Linked DNA regions of Homo sapiens: regions 2, 3, 4, 5, 6 and 7 are each linked to region 1. Evidence: promoter capture Hi-C in 16 types of primary human blood cells and fetal thymus (Javierre and others, 2016). All regions are on one chromosome and are shown on one strand. The core of a region is centred on a gene start or on the middle of the fragment in contact, and the rest is flanking DNA. Distances in the headings are between cores, read along the strand shown. Region 1 holds the start of C2CD5 (C2 calcium dependent domain containing 5). Region 2 has its middle 85 kb from the start of KRAS. Region 3 holds the start of DNAI7 (dynein axonemal intermediate chain 7). Region 4 overlaps DNAI7 (dynein axonemal intermediate chain 7). Region 5 overlaps IRAG2 (inositol 1,4,5-triphosphate receptor associated 2). Region 6 overlaps BCAT1 (branched chain amino acid transaminase 1). Region 7 overlaps BCAT1 (branched chain amino acid transaminase 1).

Evidence for each region. Contacts are between HindIII fragments. The CHiCAGO score rates a contact against its expected background, and 5 or more counts as called.
Region 2: a fragment that was not itself captured here is called in contact with the fragment with the promoter of C2CD5 in region 1 in 1 of 17 cell types (monocytes); the score reaches 5.1 in monocytes.
Region 3: a contact is called between the fragment with the promoter of DNAI7 here and the fragment with the promoter of C2CD5 in region 1, in 2 of 17 cell types (naive B cells and total B cells). The highest score is 6.0, in naive B cells.
Region 4: a contact is called between a fragment that was not itself captured here and the fragment with the promoter of C2CD5 in region 1, in 1 of 17 cell types (monocytes). The highest score is 5.1, in monocytes.
Region 5: a fragment that was not itself captured here is called in contact with the fragment with the promoter of C2CD5 in region 1 in 1 of 17 cell types (M0 macrophages); the score reaches 6.6 in M0 macrophages.
Region 6: a contact is called between a fragment that was not itself captured here and the fragment with the promoter of C2CD5 in region 1, in 2 of 17 cell types (M0 macrophages and M2 macrophages). The highest score is 11.2, in M0 macrophages.
Region 7: a fragment that was not itself captured here is called in contact with the fragment with the promoter of C2CD5 in region 1 in 1 of 17 cell types (M0 macrophages); the score reaches 8.8 in M0 macrophages.

Annotation. Positions count from the first base shown.
Region 1 is chr12:22,543,217-22,545,845 of GRCh38, forward strand. It overlaps C2CD5 (C2 calcium dependent domain containing 5), which reads right to left and starts at 1,326. Exons shown (of 27, transcript NM_001286176.2): 1 at 1,104-1,326; 2 at 845-963. The coding sequence starts at 934. RefSeq lists enhancers at 1-86, 1,227-1,456 and a silencer at 967-1,086. The HindIII fragment of the contact is 7,848 bases long and covers 1-2,629 here.
Region 2 is chr12:25,334,720-25,337,348 of GRCh38, forward strand. No RefSeq gene overlaps it. Among named protein-coding and RNA genes, the nearest start is that of KRAS, 85 kb to the left of the region's middle. The HindIII fragment of the contact is 1,019 bases long and covers 812-1,830 here.
Region 3 is chr12:25,193,822-25,196,450 of GRCh38, forward strand. DNAI7 (dynein axonemal intermediate chain 7) reads right to left here and starts at 1,339. Exons shown (of 16, transcript NM_018272.5): 1 at 1,255-1,339. The coding sequence starts at 1,257. It overlaps ETFRF1 (electron transfer flavoprotein regulatory factor 1), which reads left to right and starts at 1,416. Exons shown (of 3, transcript NM_001001660.3): 1 at 1,416-1,516. RefSeq lists an enhancer at 1,657-1,776. The HindIII fragment of the contact is 2,518 bases long and covers 983-2,629 here.
Region 4 is chr12:25,152,280-25,154,908 of GRCh38, forward strand. It overlaps DNAI7 (dynein axonemal intermediate chain 7), which reads right to left. Exons shown (of 16, transcript NM_018272.5): 6 at 2,040-2,177. Among named protein-coding and RNA genes, the nearest start is that of DNAI7, 42 kb to the right of the region's middle. The HindIII fragment of the contact is 2,905 bases long and covers 1-2,629 here.
Region 5 is chr12:25,059,903-25,062,531 of GRCh38, forward strand. IRAG2 (inositol 1,4,5-triphosphate receptor associated 2) reads left to right here. Exons shown (of 22, transcript NM_001366544.2): 2 at 1,690-1,751. Among named protein-coding and RNA genes, the nearest start is that of IRAG2, 8.5 kb to the left of the region's middle. The HindIII fragment of the contact is 2,704 bases long and covers 1-2,629 here.
Region 6 is chr12:24,908,586-24,911,214 of GRCh38, forward strand. All of the region lies in intron 1 of BCAT1 (branched chain amino acid transaminase 1), which reads right to left. Among named protein-coding and RNA genes, the nearest start is that of BCAT1, 39 kb to the right of the region's middle. The HindIII fragment of the contact is 4,004 bases long and covers 1-2,629 here.
Region 7 is chr12:24,890,212-24,892,840 of GRCh38, forward strand. All of the region lies in intron 3 of BCAT1 (branched chain amino acid transaminase 1), which reads right to left. Among named protein-coding and RNA genes, the nearest start is that of BCAT1, 58 kb to the right of the region's middle. The HindIII fragment of the contact is 3,221 bases long and covers 1-2,629 here.

The sequences.
Region 1 (2,629 bases), core at 76-2,575:
CGCCAATTTTTATTACAATCTTTACTTGGCTTCTTTCAGACTCTGGGTTATTACCTTCCGGCCGTAGGCCTTTACTAATTTGCATGACTTTTAAACTAATCATTAGACTTAAAAAGCAATTTTGCAATTTAAGTCCATGGCAATTAAATGACTTCCTACCTCAAGGCGCTAAATTACCCTGAAACACCTCATCAGACCTACCAGCCTATACAAGAGCAGGAAGTGTTGCAGTTGTGTTTTAGAACGTGCATGGCAGATTCACAAAATGTTAGGCATGAGAGTGGATTTCCTCGCACTGTGGGACTCCAAGTGCCCATAAAGGGCTTCATGCACCTTCTTAAACATGATGTCCAGCACTCTGGCCACCCCTTCCAAGGGTGTGTGTGTGCCTGTGTGTGTGTGTGTTTCAGTGGCTGCGGGGCCACACCTTGGGATCTCCTGAGTGGCAGGTGGCCTGTTAATGAGTCCTGACATCAGAGTCATTCCGGCATTTGTGTGTGTGTGTGTGTATGTGTGTGAGTGTGTCGGTGGCTGCGCGGCCACGCCTTGGGATCTCCTGAGTGGCAGGTGGCCTGTTAATGAGTCCTGACATCAGGGTCACCCCCGCATGCACAACAGTACAAGCCTCCCCGCGCAGCGGACTGTGCCGCGGACGCCTGCAAGCCGTGCACCCATCGCACACACTGAGGTCTCGGCGGTCATCCCTCGTGGGAGAGCTGGACAACCACGGCCGAAGGGAGGGCAGTCGAGGGGGGAATAGGCTGAGGGGCTGGGGGCGAGGTGGGTAGATCCTTCACAGGGCTTGGCGCTCCCTGTGTTTTGAGGGGCAGGACCCTGCACCAACCTCCACGAAGGCATCAGTCAGGTCACTAGCACGGTCCATCACTGGCAAATGGCGCCCGGCCACGATTTTCACCTTCAGCTTCCCTGGCATGGTCTCGGTTTCGGCCTCTTCTTGGGCTCCTGCAGAAACAAACAAACGAGTCTGCGCCGAGCGCGGGGCCGGCGGGAGAGGGGCGGAGGCGCGCGGGGTAACTGACAGCGAAGGAGCGCGCGGGGGCGCGCGCGGGCGCCCGGCAGTCGCGCCACGGGTCGCCACTCACTGTCGCAGGAGGAAGGGTGCTGTCCCGCGCGGGTGCTGAGACCTCATTCCGGAGAGGCGGCGGGAGGAAGGGCTTTGATGGGTTCTTCCGTCCCGGCCCCACAAGGCTGGGACGAAAAGCAAAACCCAGTCAGCATCCCGTTGAGCCTCTGCCGCCCCTGCTTGTCTCTCCTCCCCCGCTCTCAAAAATGGCGGCTCTCGGGGCGCGGAAGAAAGCATCGATCGTTCGGCGCTCTGCCCACTTGGCGGGGCGAAACTAAACTCGCCGAGGAAAGATAAGGGGGCGGGGCTGACGTTGAGAAAGCTGGAGGGCAGGGAAATGGGCCGAGTCCTGCATCATCCACCGAGTGGGGGCTGTGGATAGGTGCGGCGCTGCTTCCCTGGAGGGAAACGCTCCATCTTGCGGGCCGAAGCGCGAGTGCTGCTCTGTGACAGCCTCCGGCCGCGGCCTTCCCAGCTGCTACCGCCGCTTTTCGGATGGGCTGTGATAGATGGAGTAGCAGCGAAGACTGCTAGAAGAGCGTTTTCAGTCGGCCTTTAGTGATTCGTAAAACCAAATTAGCTGGTTTCTACTTGGAAGGGGTACAGGTGCGTGTGGTGGTTCCAGTTTTCTGTGAAATAGAGTTAGATGGCCAGGCACAGTGGCTCACGTCTGTAATCCCAGCACTTTGGGTGGCCGAGGCGGGCGGATCACCTGAGGTCAGGAGTTCAAGACCAGCCTGGACAACATGGCGAAACCCCGTCTCTACTAAAAATACAAAAATTAGCTGGGCGTCGTGGCGAGCGCCTCTAATTCCAGCTACTCAGGAGGCTGAGGCAGGAAAATCGCTTGAACCTGCGAGGCGGAGGTTGCAGTGAGCCGAGATCACTCCTCTGTCTCCAAAAAAAGAAAAAAAAGAAAGAAAGAAATAGAGATACCAGGCACATCTCGAATAGTGAAATAAATATTTAGTGAAATATTTTATTCAGTCATAGGCACTTGTGTTGTGCACTGGGTCACAGATATTACTGTGGGCGGGGTGGGGGAGGTCACCTTGAAATCCAAAGTCTCCTCTTGAAAAAAAGTTTCTGCTGGTAGGTGTGGTGGCTCAGATTTGTAATCCCAGCACTGTGGGAGGCTGAGGTGGGAGGATCGATTGAGTCCAGGAGTTCGAGACCAGCCTCATGGAGACGAGGCAACACAGTAAGACCCCTTCTTTACAAGAAATGCAAAAATTAGCTGGGCCGGTGGCTCGTCTGTGGTCTCAGCTACCTAGGAAGCTGAGGTGGGAGAATCTGGGAGAATTGCTTGAGCCCAGGAGTTTGAGGCTGCAGTGAGCTGCCATCTCACCACTGCACCCCAACCTGGGCAACAGAGCAAAACTCTGTCTCTTAAAAAAAATTTTTTTTTAATTAAATGTCCTGCACTCTTAGATCATCTCAGTGTTCTTATTAAGCATCCACAAGCCTAAAGATAAGACCTACAGTAGTAGCAGAAGTTCAGGACTTCCTACCATGGAAAGTATAGTCAACCACAAGAAATAAACA
Region 2 (2,629 bases), core at 71-2,570, 2.8 Mb after region 1:
ATTAAACATAATTGATGGCCCCTAAATATAATTGTTATTAATTACTGGACTTTTGAATAATTCTTTGAATTTAACACCTTAATGAAGAGCTACTGTTTAGAACTTGTCATTTTAATTTAAAAGTTCAAAATAATCATTTTTACACAGAAAATTCTCTTTCAAAGACGCCAAAAAAAATACTCACTTAGAATTAATATAAATGCACAATTCTAGGCTTTTAGTACCTATTAGGCTGTCTATATTTGAAATTTTAAATTCTCTATCCCTGAGTAATCACAAAGTTATCCTAACAACACATTTTAAATATTTCTTTCTAATCTCTCTGTCTCTGTCTCTCTCTCTCTCTTTTCTCTTCTTACTGAATTTTGAATAGTCTAGGTCTAGGGCACACACTCTGACCATGTTTATGAGCTGATTAGCATAATAAAATTATAGGCGAAAAAATAAATCACTTAAAGGTACATAGAAGAAAAATAGAAAGTTATATAATTTTCTTCAGTGAGGATATAAATGCATGCTTTGGATATCCAGAGATTCAAACGAAATCCATTGGTTGGAAAGCTTTTATATTAGAGGAAAAAAGCTTTCATTACCAGAGGGGGAAAAAAGAATTGAGATGACTTTATGAAAGAACCACAAAACTAATTAAAGTTCTGTGAAAGAGGCCCCATAGGGAAAGGCTTAAAGATGTGGGATATTTAAACTGCAGAAAACTGAGGTGAAGTGTCTAGACAAAGTGGTTTGACTAAAGTTGGCTTTTAAATACTGGTTGAAGTTCTTCCAATAACTGGCCCCCTTATAAAGCAAATAAAGCTTATTTTAAAAATTCTTCAGCTGACCTATGAAGTGTAGAATTTAAGGATCTTTAAATATAGGAAGAGATATTCTATGAAGTATATACTAAACAGACATTTTCTTTCCTTTACAGATAGTGCAAAGGCAGAATGAGCTACAGCAAGAAAATTGTAGGTCGACATTAGAAAAATTTGTAGATCTAAGATTGCATTATACAAATAATATACTGGATGATCCTTTTTGGAAGGAAAAAGAAACTAAAATGCATAGAAAGCATTCTTTCTTAGTAGATGAATGTAAAAGGTGATGAGAAAATCACAGGGTGAAGGCACAGGGAAGAGAAGGGAGGATAAGTAGCCACTGGGCTTGGTCAAATCCTAGACAAAAGGTTAGAGAGGTCAAACTCAGCCATTTAATGCCCCTGCCCCTTCTCACATTCAGGTCCAGGAAACTAGCTTCTTGGGATTCTCACTTTCACAGTCGCTGCTCTGAACTCCACCAGTCTTACTCTAAGCCATCTAGCCAACTTCTCCCCATCACTCAGGGCTTTGTTTTTTCTAATTAGATAAAAATCGCTCATCAGGAAAAGTGGCATTTATCAAGGTGTTAATGGGTACCCCTCGGCTAATGTTATCTTTGTCCAAATATCACATTTGCTTTATAATCAGATTTCTTGAATATTTATAACTTTACTAAAAGGAATGACTTTAACAATAGAACTCTCTAGAACTTTTTTAGGTCAGGATGGGAGGGAGAAGAGTTTTGAGGGATCCAAACACTCCATGTACATTGGTTCAACAGCTAATTATTAAGCACTTTCTGTTTCAGACACAGTTCTAAGCACATGCTATAACTTCATATAGTGAAAAGTACTACGAATAAAAGACAACAAGGTGATGAGATAGAGATGAATGGGTAGAGCTGGGATAGGTGGTGCTGGTGGCTACTTTTTCTAGATCGTGCAGTCTCGGAACTCCTTTCTGAGAAGGTGATGCTTGAGCTGAGAATCTGAGTAAGATGGAGCTTGTTAGGTTAAGCTTTGGAGGCAGAGAATATTCTAGGAAAATCTTTAACTGAGGTTGGATGGCCTTTGCATGCATTCAACCTGAGAACATCAGTAGCACTTATGGAATTAATATTGGTCTCTCATCTTCTCTAGAGGTTTCAGAAAACTCTAGGAAATTCAGATCAAGCTTTGACATCCTCTATGATCTTTTTCTTCTTAGATTTCAATCTTCTAAGGCAATTAGAACAGATATACTCTGCTCATATAGGAGTCTATTATTTATTCTTTTTTTATTAGTTCTTGAACATTTATTCAACAAATATTTATTAAACATCTACCACGCGCCAGATAATACAGCAGTGAACCAAACATAAAAATCCATATCTAGGCTGGGTGCAGTGGTTCACACCTGTAACCCCAACATTTTGGGAGGTCAAGGCGGGAGGATTGCTTGACACCAGGGGTTTGAGACCACCCCGGCCAACACAGCGAGACCCCATTTCAAAAAAAAAAAAATCCACATCCATATGGAAATTTGCATTTTAGTGAGAGAGAAAAACAATAAAGAAAATACTTTATTTCATCAAATGTAAGATGGACAATTTTTCACACTTCAAAATCTCTGAAATTGTAATCTGACTTAGTACCATCTTACATTTGTAATTGGCAGCTGTTTTTCTTTTCTTGTGATACAAAAATAATGTTGCATCTTATTATCAAAGACATCTAAGATTTCATCAAGTGTTTCTTACTGATAATAAGAAAAATAAGTAGATGGTTAGATAGTGTTAAGTGCAAAAGAGAAAAATAAAGCAACTTTCACTGCCA
Region 3 (2,629 bases), core at 89-2,588, 2.7 Mb after region 1:
TTTTTCTCTTTTTTTTTTGAGACGGAGTCTCGCTCTGTCACCCAGGCTGGAGTGCAGTGGCACAATCTCGGCTCACTGCAACCTCCGCCTCCCAGGTTCAAGCGATTCTCTTGCTTCAGCCCCCTGAGTAGCTGGAATTACAGGTGCGCGCCAACACGCCCGGCTAATTTTTGTATTTTTAGTAGAGACTGGGTTTCACCATGTTGACCAGGCTGGTCTCGAACTCCTGACATCGTGATCTGCCCGCCTCGGCCTCCCAAAGTGCTGGGATTACAGGGGTGAGCCACCGCGCCAGGCCTCCACTCCCTATTTCTTCCCACCATATGTGGAAAACTCGTATTTATACTTTAAAACAGGTTGAAAAGCACCACTCTCCTTCCCTTGTTTCCCCTCACTGAAATTTCATCATTTCCAACTGTGTGTTACCCCATTTTAGATGCTTCAATTGTTACAGTTGTAAAGCTGTATTGTAATTAATTTGTTTAATCTGTATCCTATAAGCAGAGTTGTCGTCATGTTCTTCTTGGTATTCTTGGCTTCTAGCCCAGTGCCAAGTACAAAGAATGCACTCCACATTTTTCCCTTAATTAATGAATTAAATAAGTAATTACATTCTCCACTTCCTCTGGTTTTAATTATAGAAAATGTCTTGATGGAAACCACATTTAAGAAAATCAGAGATACTCTCATAGCTACATGTTGGCCTGTCTCCTTGCTGAAAACATGGCAGTTGAGGAGTGCAGAAAAACAAAATGAGAAGCCTTATCATATTTAACTAATGCAGGATGAGAACCTTGAATCACAAAACAATTCATATTCCCACAAAAGACGACATAAAATATTTTTTCAAAGCAGAGTAAATTGCATTAGCTTTTAATTAACTGCTGGAGAAGTACTAAAACATTTCCGCCAAGTTGCAATAAGAAAATTTAGTGGGAACGTCTATCACTACTGAAAGTTACTAGGTTGGGACCAATTTTCAAGCTTAGCAACATTCGAGATCAGGATACCGTGTGACAGCTTTGACCATCTCCCGTTTGCAGAAACTGGTTTGGGACTCCTACCTGTCCGCCTGGTCCAGGTAAGGAAAGCCATTGCTGAGAAGAGGGCCGACCCACCCCAAGGTATGAGTTATTTCCCAAACCGACCCGCTTCGCTGTAAAATATGACTGGCTCTTGATTACATTATTTAACACTGGTGAAGCAGAATCAGTGGTCGCCCCTCCACCTGTCTGCCTCATTTGCCTTGCTCACCATTAAGAGTCAAGCTCCACTGCAGTAGTCCGCAGAGTCGGAGCAGAAATTGTGTGGACAAACGCTCCCGGGTTGCCCGGACGACAGGCCCCGCCCACTTGAGCTCCAGGAAAAGAGCGCAGCCGCGCGGAGGCTCTTCCGGCCGGCGCCCCGCCCCCTTTACTGACAGGTTGCCCACCTCCCCCAACGCCACCCCGCTTCGCAGTAGACGGACAGAGGAGTCGTAGCGGTCGAGGCTTTTGCGGCTCCGGCGTGCCGGAAAGTGCGTGAGTGCCGCCGCCGGGGAGTTTTGTTCCATTTCCCGGATCCTGGGGTCTGGAGGCGAAATATGCTCTGGGCGAGGACCACCGGGTGTGGGAAGAGGGTTCTGAGCGTCTCCTGACGTTGACGGTTTATTTCCTAGAGTGTGTTGGGTCTTTCTGTGAGGGTTTCGAGAAGGAAACAGGCATGCGACTGGTTCATGCAGCGGACACCCGGTGGGAGGCCTGGGCCTCTGCGGTTTAATCCAGCAGGGGGATGGGGCTCATTCCGCAATTTAAAGAGAGAAATAAGTTGGCTCCAGAGGGTTGGTTATTTTAAGATTAATGACCTTCGGATTCTTCTTTCTGCTCTATTGTTTACTTTCTGTGCAGCGTACGCGTCCTTTTTCCTAAGAGCGCCCTAAACAAGAATTGAAAATGAAGCAATTCCTGGCTAAAATATTCCTTAACATGAAGATCGCTGAGGCCCCAAAGACTCATTAGTTTCCCGAGGTCACAGACTAATTTTACTAACCACACAACCTTTAGAATTTCAGTCTCCTCCCACATGAAGAAACGCCGGCACCTTACACCGACAGGAAAACTACAATTAAGTGAGGCTGTTCTCCTCAAGCCCGACTGAGTTCTCTGTAATTGTAGGGCATACCTACACCCTGTTTTAGCATTATGAGACCTGAAATACTTTTAAATTACTGGCACCATTTCTCATCTCTGAATTATAAGTTTATAATGCTCTATCCCTTCCAGTGTTATTGACTACATGCATTATTCATAGATAAGTAGTAGGACTAAGCTAGTCTTTGTGGGTTAAAGTGTTATTATCCCTATTGTAACCTGTAACTATTATAGGTTGTGTAATAGTTATTAGCATTTTACATCCATATCCTGGTAGCAAGATAAAAACATTTTAATAGCGACTTCGTACAGAGTTCTTACTCAGTTTACCATAGCTGTTTGATATGAAAGTTAAGGCTTCCTTTTAAATTAGTTTCAGTAAAACTAATGTTTAATGATAAAACACCTCAGTCAACTCAAGTTAGGATTCATCGGGGTAAGGAGATAGTTCAGTAATCCCAAGTTACCTTAAAATAGTGGGCTTTTAGAGGAAAGGCTTT
Region 4 (2,629 bases), core at 54-2,553, 2.6 Mb after region 1:
GAGGGCTGAAACTTGCAGCCCCACTCCCTAGCCTCCAGGATGGGGAGAGGGGATGAAGATGAACTTAAATGCCAACGGCAAATGATTTAATCAAGCATGCCTACATAAATGAGGTTTCCATAAAAAACTCAAACAACGAGGTTCAGAGAACTTTCCGGTTGGTGAACACATTGAGGTGCTGGAAGGGTGGTGTGCCCCAAGAGGGCACGGAAGCTCTACACTCCTCCCTACGGACCTCACCCCTTGTATTTCTTCATCTAGTTTTTCACTTGTATCTTTTGTAATATCCTTTATAATAAACCAGTAAAGGCGAGTAAATGTTTCTCTGAGTTTTGTGAGCCATTACAGCAAATAACCTGACCAATGGCTTGTGGCTGATTTATAACAGGCTGATCAGAAGTACAGGTGACAAGCTGGGACTTGTGATTGGAAGTGAAGGAAAGGGCAGTTTTGTGGGACGGGGGTCTGCACTAGCTCTAAGTACTCAGTACCAGCACTGGATCGAAGGACACTTCAGTAGGAATCTGGAGAGTTGGATAATTGGTTGGTGTGAGAAAACCCCACATACATTTGGTGTCAGAAGTGTTAAAAGTATAAACGCTAGTTTTTCGTTTTACTTAGAATTTCTTGAGCTTCCTGAATGTGAGGATTCACATCTTTCATCAATTCTGGAAAATTTTCAGCCATTATCTCTTTGAATATTGTCTCTCTTCCATTCTTCTGTATCCCTTCTTTTCTTTTTTAGCCCTTGTTACTCTATAATACATGCCTGTCAACTGCTCTTTCATATTTTCTATCTCTTTGTCTCTGTGCTGTCTTCTGGTAAATTTTCCAATCCAACTTTTGATTCACTCCTCATTAAAAATTCTTGGCTAGGTGCAGTGGTAATCCTAGCACTTTGGGAAGCTGAGGCTGCTGGATCATTTGAGGTCAGCAGTTTGAGACCATCCTGGCCAACATGGTGAAACCTCATTTCTACTAAAAATACAAAAATTAGCCAGGTGTGGTGGCACATGACTGTAATTCCAGCTATTGGGAGGCTGAGGCATGAGAATTGGTTGAATCCGGGAGGTAGAGGTTGCGGTAAGCCGAGATCACGCCACTGCACTCCAGCCTGGGTGACAGAGCGAGATGCCGTCTCAAAAAATTAATTAAATAAATAAATAAATAAAAATTCTTAGTGGAGACATTTTTGTTTCTTATTCACTAAGCTAAAGATAAGCCAAACGCATCTTATCTCCTTTTGCACAATAAATTTTTCCTGTTATCCATAATGTCTTTTGAGGCTCCCAGCCATACAGGAGTCTCTGGTTCAACTTACCACCTTGTATGTACTCTAGGCTTTGCCTCCTGATGGCCCTTTGAACCAATGCTAAGCCATAGCAGTTAGCTAGCTAAGCCACTAACTAGTTAGCTATGAAGCCATGGCTTCAAGACCTTCTTACTTTCTGGATTGTTTTATGGCCTCTAAGGTTTTACCTTACTTTTTTTGATTAAAGCAATGAATTTAAATTTTTTTTAATAAATTAGTTTTTTTTCCCCCAGTATTTTTAAGTGCATTGTAAAGTGGCAGCTTCTCAGGCTAGTCTAACCATCCTATTTGCAGGAACAAAAGTTAGAATATTCTGATTTGTCTTTGTACCCCCACTGTCTAACAGAGTGTATACCTGGCACCTAGTAAACATGAAAAATCATGGGTACTAAATTACTGAACAGTGGATATTCCAACTGAGGATAAAATTACCCACTACCCCCACCCGAGTTATCTACATGAATGCATGCAACTTGATTTTTTTTTCTTGATTAGACAGACAAATAATCAATGTTTTATGATATGCTGACCTTAGCTAATATGGCAAGGAATTCTTAGGACTTGTAAAAAAGAAAAAAGAAAATGAAAAGATTACCAATTACTTCTTTTGCTAAGGGTTCAAAAGCAGTAGTGTTATTACTTGGCAAATGATATATTAATTTTTATTTTGAGTTAATATCAGACTATTTGTAATAGCCAGTTTATAGGAAAATGCATAAATACCTACATTTAGCACTACTTTACTCTTCTCAATCACTTCCTCAAAAGTCTCATTTGTTTTCTCTTTCCACAAACTAATAAACGTGTTCATTTCTTGGGCTACTGAAGGATCAGGACTCCCATCACATTGAATGTAGTGCTTCCACTGTGGAATAAAAATGTTTAAAGGTTCACATTGATGAAGATTCAACCAAAGATTAAATGACTTCTTTTTTGAAGGTGAATTTTTATAACCTAGTTTAACCAACTTAGATAAAAACATGATGGCTTTAACCAGTAACTTGAGAGAGCTCTAAAATAACCAAGTTCTTCTTTATCCAAGTAACTTCTAATCCTTAATATTCAGATACATAGAAGCACTAAAATACTTTCACATTTTTATTTTTAAAGCATTATTTATAAGTAGTTTTGTTTTGCTTAGTTTTCCTCTCTAATCATAGAGCTGCTTATTTGCAAAGGCCAACACTTAGGCTAATTTCTACTTCCCAAGTTATTACTAATGTCTAGTTGCCACTGGCATTTTAGTAGAAGGCCTTCCATTCATTTTGTAGTTTATGCAAATTTCACATTTGTAATCATATTGTACTGTACTTAGAA
Region 5 (2,629 bases), core at 41-2,540, 2.5 Mb after region 1:
CATTATGCTCATGACTCAGAATTTCTCCAGGCTATTAAGATATAAAACTGTTGGTTTATAAAATAAGAAGCACCAGATTTCTATGTATTTTGGATGCCAGAGTATCTGCTGTTAATAATTTTCCTGGCTGTTAGTGATTTTAAAAAAAAGTGGTAGCTATTAATATGCTTCCATCTAGCAGAGCTCCTTATATCCTTGTTTAAGTTTTGCTTTTAATCTTCTTTGGGCTGAGAAGGCAGTCAAACTGGTGAAAATTATGTATATACCCAGAGCCCACTGCTTGAGTTGAAGTGTGAGGTTTGCCACGTGAATAAAGGGCATAAATATCAGTATCTATTCTAGTTGTTCAAAAGATTTGGGTTTATTTTCTGGTTTTGGCTATGTTTCAGAGAGTAGGATTTGTCAAATAAATAATATGTTATTATGTACATCAAAGAGCTAGTTAAATATTAGGTACTTTTCCCCCATTTCCATTATTCCAGGCATAAGACCTTTAGAGATTTTACTTAAGCAGAAAAACAAATATTTTTAGTTTCACAGAATGATACCCTGAGTTAAGCTCTGTTCCATGAGTCTAATCTCAGCTCCATGATTTACCAGTTACCTTTTCAATCGTCTGCACATCAGTGTTCTCATGATCTGAGATCTACTTGTAGGATTCTGGGATCCTAGGGCTGTAATTTGAGGGCTCAAGCAGAGGCTTATTGGAGATAGGATTTCTTTATCAGTAGGAGGTCAGACTGAATGACCTCTAAAATGTATTTTCTTTTTTTTTTTTTTTTTTTTTTGAGAGGGAGTCTCGCCCTGGAGTGCAGTGGCATGATCTTGGCTCACTGCAACCTTCACCTCCCAGGTTCAAGTGATTCTCCTGCCTCAGCCTCCCAAGTAGCTAGGATTACAGGCATGCGCCACCACACCCAGCTAATTTTTGTATTTTTTTTTTTTAGTAGAGATGGGGTTTTGTCCTGTTGGCCAGGCTAGTCCCAAAGTACTGGCCTAAAATGATCCACCCACCTTGGTCTCTCAAAGAGCTGAAATTAGAGGTGTGAGCCACTGCACCAGGCCTAAGATGTATTCTTAGCTTAAGATTAGACAATTCTGTGACTCACTTCTAGAAGACAATTCACATGTATCTATCAAAGTAAAATTTAAATACCCAAGGGAGATAATGGCTTATCTGTTCTAGCCTGGTTTTCCATTTTTCCCGAGTCATAAGTTGAGAGTGCCATTCTCAGAAATCATTATTTTCCCTTTCCTTTTCTTGAGGCCCCAAATTTAAAGCCATTAAAAGTTTTTGAAGCAATGAAATGAATTAAAGGAGACAAGGTTAAATATGCTCATACTGGGCATAGTGGCTCATGCCTGTAATCCCAGCACTGTGGGAGGCCGGGGTGGGTGGATCACCTGAACTCAGGAGTTTGAGACCAGTCTAGACAACATGGTGAAACCCATCTCTACAAAAAATACCAAAACTAGCTGAGTGTGGGTGGCATGTGCCTGTAATTCCAGCTACTTGGGAGGTTGAAACAGGAGGATGGCTTCAGCCCAGGAGGCAGAGTTTGCAGTGAGGTGAGATCATGCCACTGCACTCCAATCTGGGCAATAGAACCAAATCCTGTCTTGAAATAAATTCATTAATTAATTAAATTAAAATGGTCATATTGAGCTGGTTATAAATTCTCTTTGTAGCAACAATTGAGTCACTTCAAAAGGAGTTCATTGAAGGGGAACACCATGGCTTGCTGTTTCAGGTAAAATATCTCTGATATGTGTTCAGTTACTGTGGAGGAAGTTGTTCAATTCATGTAAGGTTTTGAAGCTAATTTATAACAGACAATGACTTTAATCATTAAATTAAATAACCAGTTTAGAAGAAAATGTTTTGGTGGACTTTGTTCTCTTCTGCACTTAAAGTATTTAGCAAAATAAGAAAGGAGATCTTACATTAGTGAGTGGCTACTGATAATATCTTCTAGAGAGGAAGCATTTCAGAATTTTCTTTGCCCCACCACTATATCTATTAGCGAACAGCCAGTTTTTCAGTCTTGGGGACCTCCTTTCTGATAGTAAGGGCATATCATTCAATTTATAATATGCTGAAATTTTGAGTATTCTTGAATAGGCTTTGATGGTTACTGTCTCTTTTTTCTTTCTCATATTTGAATTAAACTTTCTATTTCTTTCTGTATGGGTCATCTCAAGATATCCCTGGTAAAGTGTATTTCCTTCCCTTGTGATACTTGGTGAATCTCCTTTTTGTTCAGAAATGAAGAACATAAGGGAACAGCAAGGCAGCAAGGTTGGCACTGGAGGAAGATGATGGAGGAGGAAAGAAAGAAGGGTGATATTTGCATGTATCTGTTTCTAGGGCATCATGCAGACACATCTGTTAAAGCAGGAAAAAAAAAACCATGTGGAAGATTAAGCTAGGCAGAGTGCCTGAAAAGCCCTCTGCAATAAGTTGAGCTGGAAAAACCTCCATATCTAAAGATGCTTTAATCATCTCAAGAACACCAACAACATTTTCTATTATAATATAACTATGATAGATGTGAATCTACCTCTTGGATTAAGGCAATAATTTTATAGCTATCAAATTTTCACAGACACCATTTTCACTACTCTGAGT
Region 6 (2,629 bases), core at 53-2,552, 2.4 Mb after region 1:
AACAAATTAGTTGGGCGTGGTGCCATACACCTGTGGTCCCAGCTACTTGGGAGGCTGAGATGAGAGGATCACTTGAGCCCAGGAGGTGGAGGTTGCAGTGAGCCAAGATCACACCACTCCACTCCAGCCTAGGTGACAGAGCAAGACCCTGTCTTAAAAAAAATAATAAACATTAAAAATTTTTTCAAATGTAAATAGCTAACTACATGGGGCTACAGTCTGAGCACCGGTTTGGGCATTGAAGTCCCTTGGTTGAGATTCGTTATCCTGGTTCTATCACTTATAAGCCCTATGACTTTTGGCAAATTACTAACCTCTTTTGAGTCTCATATTTAAACTCAGAGTAAGTAATGGGCAGTGACGACACTCAACATGAAGATATCTATAAAGGACTTAGCAGTACTTAGCACTTAGTAACTGCTCAGTACATGTTAGCTAGTGTTATATACCATGTTTTAATTTTTTTAAGACCCATTTATTTTTCAGTTATATGTAGCCCTTGGATTACGGTATACTGATGATTAGGATATTATGTGAGAGAAACCTTAAAAATATACATCTAGTGTTTCTAGGTTTTTGTTTGTTTAATAAAGTTTCTTTAAAAAAAATAAGGCCCAGTTTGGTTCAGAAAACAAACTGCACAGCTATTATTTACATGCTTCCTGGTTGGTATTGGGAAGACAATGACAGATGAGTATAATTCCTACCTGCCAAACCCTCCCCTTACTCCTGCCATGTCACGTCTCTGGAAAAGTGAGCCATAAAAAAATCTTGACAAAAGAATTCTCATTTGGGCTTATTCAATGCCAAGTCCCATTCAACGAAGTAAAATGAGCAATTCTATGTACTGTGTATGTAGTTACTGTATCATTTGCCTAGGACGGTAGTAACAAAGTGCCACAAACTGGGTAGCTTAAACCCACAGAAAGTGATTGTCTCATAGTTCCAGAGGTGAGGTGTGGACAGGCCCAGCTTCCTTTGGAACCTGTAGGGGAGAATCCTACCTTTCTTCTTCTAGCTTCTGGTAACCCAGGTGTTTCTTGGCTTGCAGCTGCCAACACTTCAATCTCTCCTTCTGTTGCATTGTGTTTTCCCTTCCTGTCTGTCTGCTTCCTGTAACTGCTTTGATTAATGGACTATGGAGAAATATGGAAGTGACACTGTTCTAAGACTAAGCATATACACTAACTGGCCAGGCAGTTTCTGCTTTCTTCCTCTTGGAAGGATCTTGGAACTACCCCACCTAGAACCCAGTCACCCCAGCTATAAATAGCCCAAATCACATGGAGGAGCCACGTGCAGGCTCATTAGTCAACAGTGCAACATCCAGCATCACTGTCAGCCCTGTGAGTGGCTGTCTTAAACATCCAGCCCAGTCAAGCCTTCAGATGATGCCGGCCCCTCATGACTGATTAAAAACACATGAGAGACCATAAGGCTGACTCAGACTGCTCAGCCGGGCCCAGGCAATCTAGAGACCATGAGAGATAAAAATAAATTATTGTTGGCCATGCACAGTGGCTCACACCTGTAATCCCAGCACTTTGGGAGGCCAAAGCAGGCATATCACCTGAGATCAGGAGTTCGAGACCAACCTGGCCAACATGGTGAAACCCCGTCTCTACTAAAAATAAAGGAAAAATTAGCTGGGCTTGATGGCGGGTGCCTGTAATCCCAGCTCTACGGGAGGCTGAGGCAGGAGGATCACTTGAACCCAGGAGGTGGAGGTTGCAGTGAGCCGAGATCATGCCGCTGCACTCCAGCCTGGGTGACATAGCGAGACTCTGTCTCAAAAATAAATAAATAAATAAATAAATAAATAAATAAATAAATAAATAAATTATTGTTTTAAGGCCACAAAGTTTGGGGTGGTTGGTTATATAGCAATGTTAACCAAAGCAGCATGCAAACCTAACATGCTTATTTCATTATTTATTTAAAAACCTAATAATAATAAATCATGCCCAAAAATAGGGATAAAAGGGTGAGATAAACATGAAATAAGTAATCCTTTAAAATATCTTTCTAACTATGGTTATTTTATTGTACCAGCCCTAGCTAAAGGCCCAGTATACACAAGGGCCAAGTAATCAGTAATGACAGTGATACAAATCCTTCTTTTAAAGTCTTCTTGATGATCAAAATTGTGTCACCCACTATTTGTCAGTTCCGATGAAATCATTGTTGTTTTTTTAATCTCATGATATGGTTAATGGAGAACTTATAATAAGAACTGGGGCCAGGCACAGTGGCACACGCCTGTAATCCCAGCACTTTGGGAGGCCAAGGCGGCCGATCACCTGAGGTCAGGAGTTTGAGACCAGCCTGGCCAACATGGTAAAACCCTGTCTTTACTAAAAATACAAAAATTAGCTGGGCATGGTGGCGAGTGCCTGTAAACCCAGCTACTCAGGAGGCTGAGACATGAGAATTGTGTGAACCTGGGAGGTGGAGGTTGCAGTGAGCCAAGATCGCACTACTGACTCCAGCCTGGTGACAGAGTGAGACTGTCTTAAAAAAAAAAAAAAATTGAAAAAATATTAGTTATCATGAAAAACATGACACATTTCCTTGTTTTACATTACTAATATTTTCATTATTATTCTGGCTTTATCCTTTTAAATTTTTA
Region 7 (2,629 bases), core at 59-2,558, 2.3 Mb after region 1:
TGACTTGTGTCTGGGCCAGGTGAGGGTGGTTAGGGTCTTGGGGAATGAGCCCTTAACCCATGGGATCTGACACTATTTCCAGGTGGATAATGTCAGAGGTGTTTGGACCAGAGCGACTCCATCCTGATTAGGGGCTGGGTAAAATAAGGCTGAAACCTACTGGGCTGCATTCTCAGGAGGTTAGTATTCTAGGTCACAGGATGAGATAGGAGGTCGGCACAACATACAGGTTACAAAGACCCCACTGATAAAACAAGATGTGGTAAAGAAGCCAGCCAAAACCTGCCAAATCCCATATGGCAATGAAAGGGATGTCTGGCCGTCCTCGCTGCTCATTATAAGCTAATTATAATGCATTAGCATGCTAACAGACACTCCTACCAGTGTCACGACAATTTACAGAGGCCATGGCAATGGTGGGAAGTTAACCTACAAGGTCTAAAAAGGGGAGGAACCCTCAGTTCCAGGAATTGCCCATCCCTTTTCTGGAAAATTTATGAATAATCTACCCCTTCTTTAGCAAATGATCAAGAAATAACCATTAAAATAGCCAACCAGCAGCCCTCGGAGCTCCTCTGTCTACGGAGTAGCCATTCTTTTTTTCCTTTACTTTCTTAATAAATTTTATTTTACTTTGTGGACTCTCCCCAAATTCTTTCTTGTGCAACATCCAAGAACCTCTTGGGGACTGGATTGGGACACCTTTCCCGTAATAACAGTGTGAGAATTGAATTGGAGGACACCCAGCTGGGGTTCACTGCTTGGTGGTGGGGAGAAATCCCTACACCTTTGATCATAGAAGTCTCCTATGTTGACTATTGTTGTGGTGGTGTGAGAGTAGAGGAAAAACTCGGTTGGAGAATTTTTCTTGAAAGAGTAGTTTTGAGGCTAGGGCGTAAACAGCAATAGAGCTTCCATCTGGGCTCAGTCAACTGACACATACAGATTTTGGGCCCTAGGTCAGCACATAAGAAGGCTGCCTACTCTGTGACTGCCATCCTGAGGAGACCACATGGAGAACAAGTAATGCCGGAAGAGCCTTCAACTCCTTGAGTTTTGCAGCCCAGATGGCAATGAAAGTGACCTCTGGTCATCCTCACTGTTCATTATACACAAATTATGAAGCATTAGCATGCTAAGAGACACTCCCTCCAGCACCATATGAGTTAGGAAGCCTGTGAGCTGACTCTAACCCCAGCCACTGACAGCAACCGTGTGACGGACCCCAAGCAAAAACCACTTAGCCATCCTAGTCAACCCCAGAAACATGAAAAATAATTTTAAAATGACGCTTGTAATTTTAAGCTATTAATTTTGTTACATAGTGGTAACCATGCAATATACAATCCAGTTATTAATACAAAACATTTATTTTACTTATATTGTAAGCAGAAGACTAATAATAAAAGATTTTGGTTTTTAACAAAGGATAACAGTAATTTGAGAGTTTTTTTAAACTACCCTAATTACAAAAATCTAAATTGGCAAAACCAATCAAAGTAGCATTCCAACTCATCTAAATAGATGGCCAAAGAGGTTTTTGTTTTTTTTTTTTGAGATGGAGTCTTGCTCTGTCACCCAGTGTGGAGTGCAGCGGCGTGATCTCGGCTCACTGCAAACTCCGCCTCCTGGGTTCACGTCATTTTCCTGCCTCAGCCTCCTAAGTAGCTTGGACTACAGGCGCCTGCCACCACGCCCGGCTAATTTTTTTTTTTTTTTCTATTTTTAGTAGAGATGGGGTTTCACCATGTTAGCCAGGATGGTCTCGATCTCCTGACCTCGTGATCCGCCCGCCTTGGCCTCCCAAAGTGCTGGTATTACAGGCGTGAGCCACCTCGCCTGGCCGTTTTTTGTTTTGTTTTGTTTTGTTTTGTTTTGTTTTGTTTCAATAGAGTCAGGGTCTCATCATGTTGCAGCCCAGTAGGTCTCAGCCTTATTTTACCCAGCCCCTATTCAGGATGGAGTCACTCTGGTTTGAACGACTCTGACATTATCTACGTGGAAATAGCATCAGATCCCATGGGTGGAGGGCTCATTTCCCAAGAACCCCATCTCCCCGAAACTGCTGAAATTACAGATGTGAACCACCCCACCCAGCCTTCAAAGAGTTTTCAAAAACCAGTGACCACCAAAATCTTTTTTAACTTCCAAAAATGACATTAAATCATTTCTCATTTACTTCCCATAGGCCAGCAATTCCCAAAATGTGGTCCCTGGAGCGACAAAATTAACATGATCTGGACACTTGTTAGAAATGAGAAACTCTGGAGATGTAGCCAGCTGATTCTGATGCACATTAAGTTTGAGAACCAGTGACCTGGGCTTGGGCATATTATTCCTTTCAAATTTAAAAGCACATAGCCAGGAGCAGTGGCTCATGGCTGTCATCCCAGCACTTGAAGAAGCCAAGGCAAGAGGATTGCTTGAGCCCAGGAGTTTGAGACCAGCCTGGGCAACATGGCAAAACCCAGTCTCAACAAAATATGTAAAAATTAGCCAGACATGGTGACATGTGTCTGTGGTCCCAGCTACTCAGGAGGCTGAGGTACGAGGTTTGCTTGAGCCCAGGAGTTTGAGGCTGCAGTGAGCCACGATCGTGCCACTGCACTCCAGCCTGGGTGACAGAGCA